Regions from separate parts of the Homo sapiens genome. Here regions 2 and 3 are each linked to region 1. The links are contacts of gene promoters, found by promoter capture Hi-C in human tissues and cell types (Jung and others, 2019). All regions are on one chromosome and are shown on one strand. The core of a region is centred on a gene start or on the middle of the fragment in contact, and the rest is flanking DNA. Distances in the headings are between cores, read along the strand shown.

Region 1 (2,529 bases), core at 21-2,520:
TATTGTGTGGCTGGGCGCGGTGGCTCACACCTGTAATACTAACACTTTGGGAGGCCGAGGTGGGCAGATCACTTGATTTCAGGAGCTCGAAACCAGCCTGGCCAACATGGTGAAACCCCGTCTCTACTAAAAATACAAAAAAGGCCGGGCATGGTGGCTCACGCCTGTAATCCCAGCACTTTGGGAGGCCAAGGTGGGCGGATCACCTGAGGTTGGGAGTTCGAGACCAGCCTGACCAACATGGAGAAACCCCATCTCTATTAAAAATACAAAATTAGCCAGGCATGGTGGCACATGCCTGTAATCTCAGCTACTCGGGAGGCTAAGGCAGAAGAATCGCTTGAACCTGGGAGGCAGAGGTTGCAGTGAGCTGGGATCACGCCAGTGCACTCCAGCCTGGGCGACAAGAGCGAAACTCCGTCTAAAAAAAAAAAAAAAAAAAAAGCCGGGCGCCGGGCGTGGTGGTGGGCGTCTGTAACCCCAGCTACTGGGTGGGGCTGAGGCAGGAGAATCACTTGAACCTGGGAGGCTGAGATGCAGTGAGATGGCGCCACTGCACTTCAGCCTGGGCGACCCAGCAAGACTCTGTCTCAAAAACAAAACAAAACAAAACAAAAATAAAAACTGAAAAATCTCAAACATATAAAACCCAAATAGAATAAATCTCCATGTGCCTGGCACCAAATTTCAACAATTATCAACTCATGGTCAATCTTACTGTATTTACACCCCACCACCTTAATTATGTAGTAGCAAATCGGAGGTATTTCATCTATAAGCATTTTGGTGTGTTTCTCTAAAAATTAAAAACTTTAACTTTTTAAAAAACTTTATTGTTCTTGTTAATGACTGATAATACCATTATCCCACCTAAAATTTTTATTTTCCGGGAAGGCTTTTTTCTGGTGGCTCACACCTGTAATCGCAACACTTTGGGAGGCGGAGGCGGGAGGATCGCTTGAACCCCAGGAGTTCAAGACCAGTGTGGGCAATATAGCAAGTCCTCGTCTCAGGAAAAAAAGGAAAAAAGAAAGTTAGCTTTTTGGCAAAACTACTTCCTAGTAGATGGTGTGTACTTCCTATCACAGCGCATTAAGGGGCACATAATGCCTGGGACTCCGGGATTTCGAGCCCCTGACGCCAGCGGCGCCTCTGTGGCTCTGGGACCTGAGCGCACGCGCCTTAAAGCCACGCCTCCGCATCGGATCCTAGTAAGGGAGCGGGGTTATCATTTTAGCGTAGCGTTGCGCGTGCGCAGAGAGGCCGCCGTAGTTTGCGTTTTCACCTGGTCGCCCGGCGGCCATGGCGGCCGTTCTGAAGCCGGTGCTGCTGGGCCTTCGAGATGCGCCGGTGCACGGCAGCCCCACAGGGCCGGGTGCCTGGACTGCTAGCAAGCTGGGCGGCATTCCGGTGAGGGCGGGTGCCGGAGCTGGGGTCGATGGGTGCTGCTGAAGGGTGCGGAGGGAGTGGGCGAGGTCCTGGGGGGAGTCGGGGTCTGAGCGCCTCCTCTGTCCCCTCAGGATGCTCTGCCCACCGTGGCTGCGCCCAGGCCCGTGTGTCAGCGCTGCGGGCAGCCGCTCGCTCTGGTCGTGCAGGTGTATTGCCCGCTGGAAGGCTCCCCGTTTCACCGTCTGCTGCACGTGTTCGCGTGCGCCTGCCCCGGCTGTAGCACCGGCGGTGCGCGCAGGTAGGCGGGGAAGTCCCAGAGCTGCTCCAGGGGTGTCCTTTCCAGCGGGCTGGGGCGGGCCGGCGGGCTGGAGTCGGGGTGCAGCCCTCACGGCCCTTTGTCTTCACCCCGAAGCTGGAAGGTGTTCCGCTCCCAGTGCCTGCAGGTGCCAGAGAGAGAGGCGCAGGACGCTCAGGTAAAGGTTGTGATTGGCATGTTATTGTTTTTCTGTCATTTGAGGATATTTTCCAGAGAATAGTTTGGGGCAGACTTTAAAGCCGTGTTCTTTGAAGTACACTGGAGTGTTTTTTGCTTTTCTGAAGAACCATAAAATGCTATTTTCGTAAAGTTTTTTTTTTTTTTTTTTTTTGAGACGGAGTTTCGCTCTGTCGCCCAGGCTGGAGTGCAATGGCGCGATCTCGGCTCACCGCAACCTCCGCCTCCCAGGTTCAAGCGATTCTCCTGCCTCAGCCTCCCTAGTAGCTGGGATTACAGGCATATGCCACCACGCCCGGCTAATTTTGTATTTTTAATAGAGACGGGGTTTCGCCATGGTGGTCAGGCTGGTCTCGAACTGCCGACCTCAGGTGATCCACCCGCCTCGGCCTCCCAAAGTGCTGGGATTACAGGCATGAGCCACCGCGCCCGGCCTTTCTTAAGGTTTTGTGAGAGTTTTTTTTTTCTTCTATTTTACTTTATTTTTATTTTCTAACTCCTTTGTTAAAAGGAGATGGAGGCCCAGCATGGTGGCTCACGCCTGTGATCCCACCGTTTTTTGAGAGGCTGAAGTGGGAGGATTGCTTGAGCTCAGAAGTTGGAGACCAGGCTGGGCGCGGTGGCTTACGCCTGTAATCCCAGCACTT
Region 2 (2,529 bases), core at 12-2,511, 54 kb after region 1:
GGAGGCCGAGGCAGGCAGATCACCTGAGATTGGAAGTTCGAGACTAGCCTGACTAACGTGGAGAAACCTGGTCTCTACTAAAAAAAAAAAAAATATATATATATATATATATATATATATATATATAAAATTAGCTGGGCATGGTGGTGCATGTTTGTAATCCCAGCTACTCAGGAGGCTGAGGCAGGAGAATCACTTGAACCTGGGAGGCGGAAGTTGCATTAAGCCGAGATCGCGCCATTGCACTCCAGCCTGGCAACAAGAGCGAAACTCTGCCTCAAGAAAAAATATAGTAATATATCTGGATTTCATTTTTTTACATTTGCAAATGAATTCCAGCCTGGATTAATGTTAGCCCAGGTATTAATAGTGGTAGCAATTGCTTTTATTATTGTCAGTTTCCCTTAGCACACTTACCTTCCCGGTGAAGCCCAAAATCAAACAAATCTTTCTCCCTCTGTAGCCTGCTTGGCCTGGGCAGTTTGCTTCTAGCCCTTCCACCTACCAGTATTCATTGTACGGAGAAGCTATTTTACAGAGGACGGCTTTAGTGTCTCTTGAGGGATTTAGTTCTGTATTCTCAGGGGAATCCGTAGAGTACTCCTTTAGAATTCATTCCTCTTAGCAGACTCAACACTACATTGTAGTCACAAGATAAAGGTTTGTGTCTCAGCTTCTTGTCTTCTGACATTTGTTGTTTCTGTTGGATCTTGCTAGTGTTTTCTAAACTTTAGTAGAAGCAGGAGCTTGGAGCTTTTCTTAATTTCAGTGTAATTTGTATATTTGCCTTGGTTCTTAATTATTTTTTTGTTTAGTATTAGAGAAATGGTAAATAGGTACATATACTGCCAGAAATACATTTTTTTCCCTCATTATATAAATGTTATTCTAATCAGAAAATTTGGGAAGGCAGTGATGTTGATTCTAGACAACTGTGAAAGGCACTATCGTTAACTGGAGAAATTAATGTGTTGGTCTTGTCAGGAGATTGCTTGCTTGATAAGAATAGCCTCAGGGAGGGACACCAGCTGCTGATACAATGATGGCACCACAGATTAACATGCCTGTGCCCTTACTCTTGCCAAATCAGGTTGCAGAAGAACGCGGAGTCTTATATAATACAAGGAGATGTCTTTTCAGCAAGCCTAGCTAGCCTAGCCTTTAGCTGATTAGAAAAGAAGGTTGAGGCCGGGCGCGGTGGCTCACGCCTGTAATCCCAGCACTTTGGGAGGCCGAGGCGGGCGGATCACGAGGTCAGGAGATCGAGACCATCCTGGCTAACACGGTGAAACCCCGTCTCTACTAAAAAAAAAATACAAAAAATTAGCCGGGCGAGGTGGCGGGCGCCTGTAGTCCCAGCTACTCGGGAGGCTGAGGCAGGAGAATGGCGTGAACCCCAGGGGGCGGAGCCTGCAGTGAGCCGAGATTGCGCCACTGCACTCCAGCCTGGGCGACAGCAAGACTCCGTCTCAAAAAAAAAAAAAAAAAAAAAAAAAAAAAAAAAAGAAGGTTGAAAAACCAGGTTCCTAAAAAGGTCATGATTTTCCTGATCCATTTTGCCATCTGGACGGGAATTTTTAAGTCATTTTTTATTGGATATCTGGTAAACGAGATTTTAGATTGTATGGCGTATAAAATTACAGCACGTTTCCGATTTCTGCCTGTTATTTCTCCTCCAAAGATTTTTTTGAATAAACAACCAAACCCAAGAAAGAAGCTTCTTGTGCCTTGTGCACTGGATCCTCCCAACCCCAATTGTTATGTATGTGCCAGCAAGCCAGAGGTGACTGTGCGGCTGAATGTCCATAAAGTGACTGTTCTCACCTTACAAGACAAGGTCAGTGCAAGGCCTGGGTCTCTTTTCCTTTTGCTTTTACAGTATTACTGTGATGACAAACAAACACTAGCTGCTGATTCTGAAAAGGTCCAACTGCAGAGATGTGTGGCTGTGATTTCCTGGGTTATTTTGCCTTCTGGATTCCTGCAGGCTTTTCTGTCTGTGGTTCCAGAATAAGTGCCTCACATTCCCAGAATGGAGTAGGAGTATTTGACTGGAATCTGCAGCACAGTGGTGGCACAGTATCACAGCAAGCAGAGGACTTCTTTGCTCTTTGCTTCCCAGGCAGTGGGTAAATTCTGTATTTTTTGACAAATAACAGGTATCCTTGAATGGTCCTCACTGTGGCAGTGAGCAGATAAGTATTTGCATGCAGTGCAAAGTTTGCATTTCCAGTAGAGCAAAGCCCCAGTTACCAGCTTTGTATTAAAGGGTATAAGTAACTTGCAGAGTTTTGGTTTCTCTGCGTGTTGGACAGTGCCCACTCCCAGCAAATTAGGGGGCTTTTGTTATTTCTGAGGTCTGAGTTGAGGCTAAGTGGTGGTACACACTTATCTAATATGACCTGATTCTGATATGGTAAGTTAGTCCCTGAGGACATAGGGCATTTGCACACCTGGATTCACCTCTGGAGCTGAAGCGAGGGAAGAAATGGGGGTTTAGGACATGGTCTGGTCCTTAAGTTCCTGTTA
Region 3 (2,529 bases), core at 13-2,512, 39 kb before region 1:
GTTGGCCAGTCTGGTCTGGAACTCCTGGCCTCACATGATCCGCCTGCCTCGGCCTCCCAAAGTGATGAGATTACAGGCGTGAGCCACCGCGCCCGGCCTAGTCACTTTTTTCTTAATTGCAACCCCGATTCTCAGCACCCTTTTCATCTTGGTTTTCCTCAATAGCCCTTACCACCAGCAGACACACATCATCTGTTGTACTTGCTTATTTGGCACATATGTATCCACAGCGCCTAGAACACTGCCTGTAACGTGGAAGGTGTTCGATCTATAGAGTTTTGTCGAATGAATGAATGAAGCCGACTAGTGCACAGGGAGTGCAGCGGCGCGATGGTAGCTCTCTGCAGCCTCCAACACCTGGGCTCCAGTGATCCCCGGGCTCTGCCCACCCTCCCCACTGCCACTTCCGGGCAGAGGCCAGCAAAGCGGCGGCGCAAGAGGTAGGGAGAGAGGAGCTGAGGCCCCAGATCAGCGGCCGCGGGCAAGGTCGCTCAGCGGGCACCCGGCCTGGGTATCGGGGCGCGGGTCGGGGGCGGGGCCGGGGCTCAGGGGTGGGGCCGGGCCGGGCCGGGCCGGGCGCCTGCGCCATAAAGGCCGCCGCGCGCCCACGCGCCTCGCTTGCTGCGCGCTGCCGGCGCTCCTTCCTCCTCGGCTCGCGTCTCACTCAGTGTACCTTCTAGTCCCGCCATGGCCGCTCTCACCCGGGACCCCCAGTTCCAGAAGCTGCAGCAATGGTACCGCGAGCACCGCTCCGAGCTGAACCTGCGCCGCCTCTTCGATGCCAACAAGGACCGCTTCAACCACTTCAGGTGCGGGCGGGCCGGAGGCGGGGGCTGCCACGCGCGGCGCCCGGAACCGGGCACGCGGGCCTGGGGTCTGGAGGCGGGGGCAGCGGTGCCCGGGGACCCCAGTCCCCGACCTCCAGGCCACGGACTGGGGCCCAGGCCGAGTCCGCACTTCGTCCTTGGAGTCTCCTTGGAGTGCGTTCCTGGGGGCTTGCAGCCTCGCCGGGAGTCTCGGCCCCGGGTCTGCTTCGTTACGAGGAAAAACGGGCCCCTCCGTGGGGACATTTCCCCTCCTCCTCCCCGTGCAGCTCTGGCCATTTGAGCAGGGGCTCCTTTCGCAGTTGTGAAGAGAGGCCTTGGCTGACGCAGCAAGCGGGAAAGGGCTGTCCCTTTCCATCCGCTCCTGGCCACATGAGCTTGGGAGCGTCTGCAGGGCGGGCAGCCCGGGCGGGGGTGTTTGAGGGAGCTGGGTGGAAGGATGGAGACGTCGGGCGTGATTCCTGCAGAAGACACCTGTGCACGACCGGGAAGTGGGAAGGAGTGTTTGAGCAAATCATGGGCGGGAGTGCGGCCAAGGGAGCTCTGATCACTGATACTGGTGGAGGCGGGGGAGGGGAGCGACTGTGGCTCCGGGCTAGACGTCCCGATGGCCATCCCTGTCATCTGGATGGGTGCCTGAGTAACTTACGGCAGAAAGTGGAAGCCCTGGGAAGGGGTGGTCCCCCACTTCAGTCCGGGCTCCTCATCCAGGGTCTGCCTGCATCTACGGTCTGTGAGGATGGCTTCTTTCTCTGGGCTGCTGTTGCAGATCATCCTGGTGGGCCAGCAGGTGACAGACACCACCACTGTGCTGGGTGGCCGCGGCCCTTGTGGGGCGTGGGTCAGGGAGGATGTTTCTTCTGGGAACAGCTCCTGCTTAGGGCATGGCTCCCCGCTAGGGAGACCAGGGTGTGGTCAGCAGCATCTCCATCTTTCTGCAGCTTGACCCTCAACACCAACCATGGGCATATCCTGGTGGATTACTCCAAGAACCTGGTGACGGAGGACGTGATGCGGATGCTGGTGGACTTGGTAATGTTCTGCTTGGGGAGGCATAACTGGTAACCGACAGAGTGGTGGGTGAGCTGGGCTCCTGGGAGTCCCCAGGACCTTGAGTATCTTGAGTTCTTCCTCTCATTAGACCTCAGTCACCTCCTCTGTGCTGGTGAGGCACCTGTCCCTGGCTTAGGTTCTAAGCAGCATCCCAGGGACCCCAGTGTCTGATGTCTGAGTAGACCCTTCCCAGACAGCAGGGGAGGGAACCAGACAGCAGCCGTCTGTCTGTCTCATTGGGGACAGCACCAAGCCTTGTGTTTGGGGGCTGACACTTGGGGTGGCCAGTGTGGGTGGGACCAGGCCTCAGTATCGTCTCTTCCTAGGCCAAGTCCAGGGGCGTGGAGGCCGCCCGGGAGCGGATGTTCAATGGTGAGAAGATCAACTACACCGAGGTGAGCAGGCCCCACATACCCTCTGGGGCCTCCTTCCTTCCCTTTGGGGTTTATCTGACTGTTAGCCGCATCACCCTGTGTCTTCACCCCTTCTCTTGGGCAATGCTTTTGCTTAATGAGGGGCCTGAAGGCCTTTTTCCTCCTGCTTGTAGCAGGGCTTTGGGGTGTGCCTTCCACAAGATTGGTTTGGTGAGCTCCTTGGAATGGTTCCCAGTGTCTGCCTGGGAGGAGCATATCTCATACCCACAGGGAGAGTT

What was found. Contacts are between HindIII fragments. The study calls those that stand out against the background at their distance.
Region 2: a contact is called between a fragment that was not itself captured here and the fragment with the promoter of PDCD2L in region 1, in 1 of the 25 tissues and cell types used here (small bowel).
Region 3: a fragment that was not itself captured here is called in contact with the fragment with the promoter of PDCD2L in region 1 in 1 of the 25 tissues and cell types used here (aorta).

What each region holds. Positions count from the first base shown.
Region 1 is chr19:34,403,129-34,405,657 of GRCh38, forward strand. It overlaps PDCD2L (programmed cell death 2 like), which reads left to right and starts at 1,271. Exons shown (of 7, transcript NM_032346.2): 1 at 1,271-1,410; 2 at 1,521-1,687; 3 at 1,802-1,862. The coding sequence starts at 1,303. The HindIII fragment of the contact is 14,760 bases long and covers 1-2,529 here.
Region 2 is chr19:34,457,088-34,459,616 of GRCh38, forward strand. It overlaps UBA2 (ubiquitin like modifier activating enzyme 2), which reads left to right. Exons shown (of 17, transcript NM_005499.3): 13 at 1,682-1,837. Among named protein-coding and RNA genes, the nearest start is that of WTIP, 23 kb to the right of the region's middle. The HindIII fragment of the contact is 3,181 bases long and covers 1-2,529 here.
Region 3 is chr19:34,364,580-34,367,108 of GRCh38, forward strand. GPI (glucose-6-phosphate isomerase) reads left to right here and starts at 617. Exons shown (of 18, transcript NM_000175.5): 1 at 617-809; 2 at 1,766-1,856; 3 at 2,204-2,272. The coding sequence starts at 688. RefSeq lists an enhancer at 1,691-2,431. The HindIII fragment of the contact is 6,168 bases long and covers 1-2,529 here.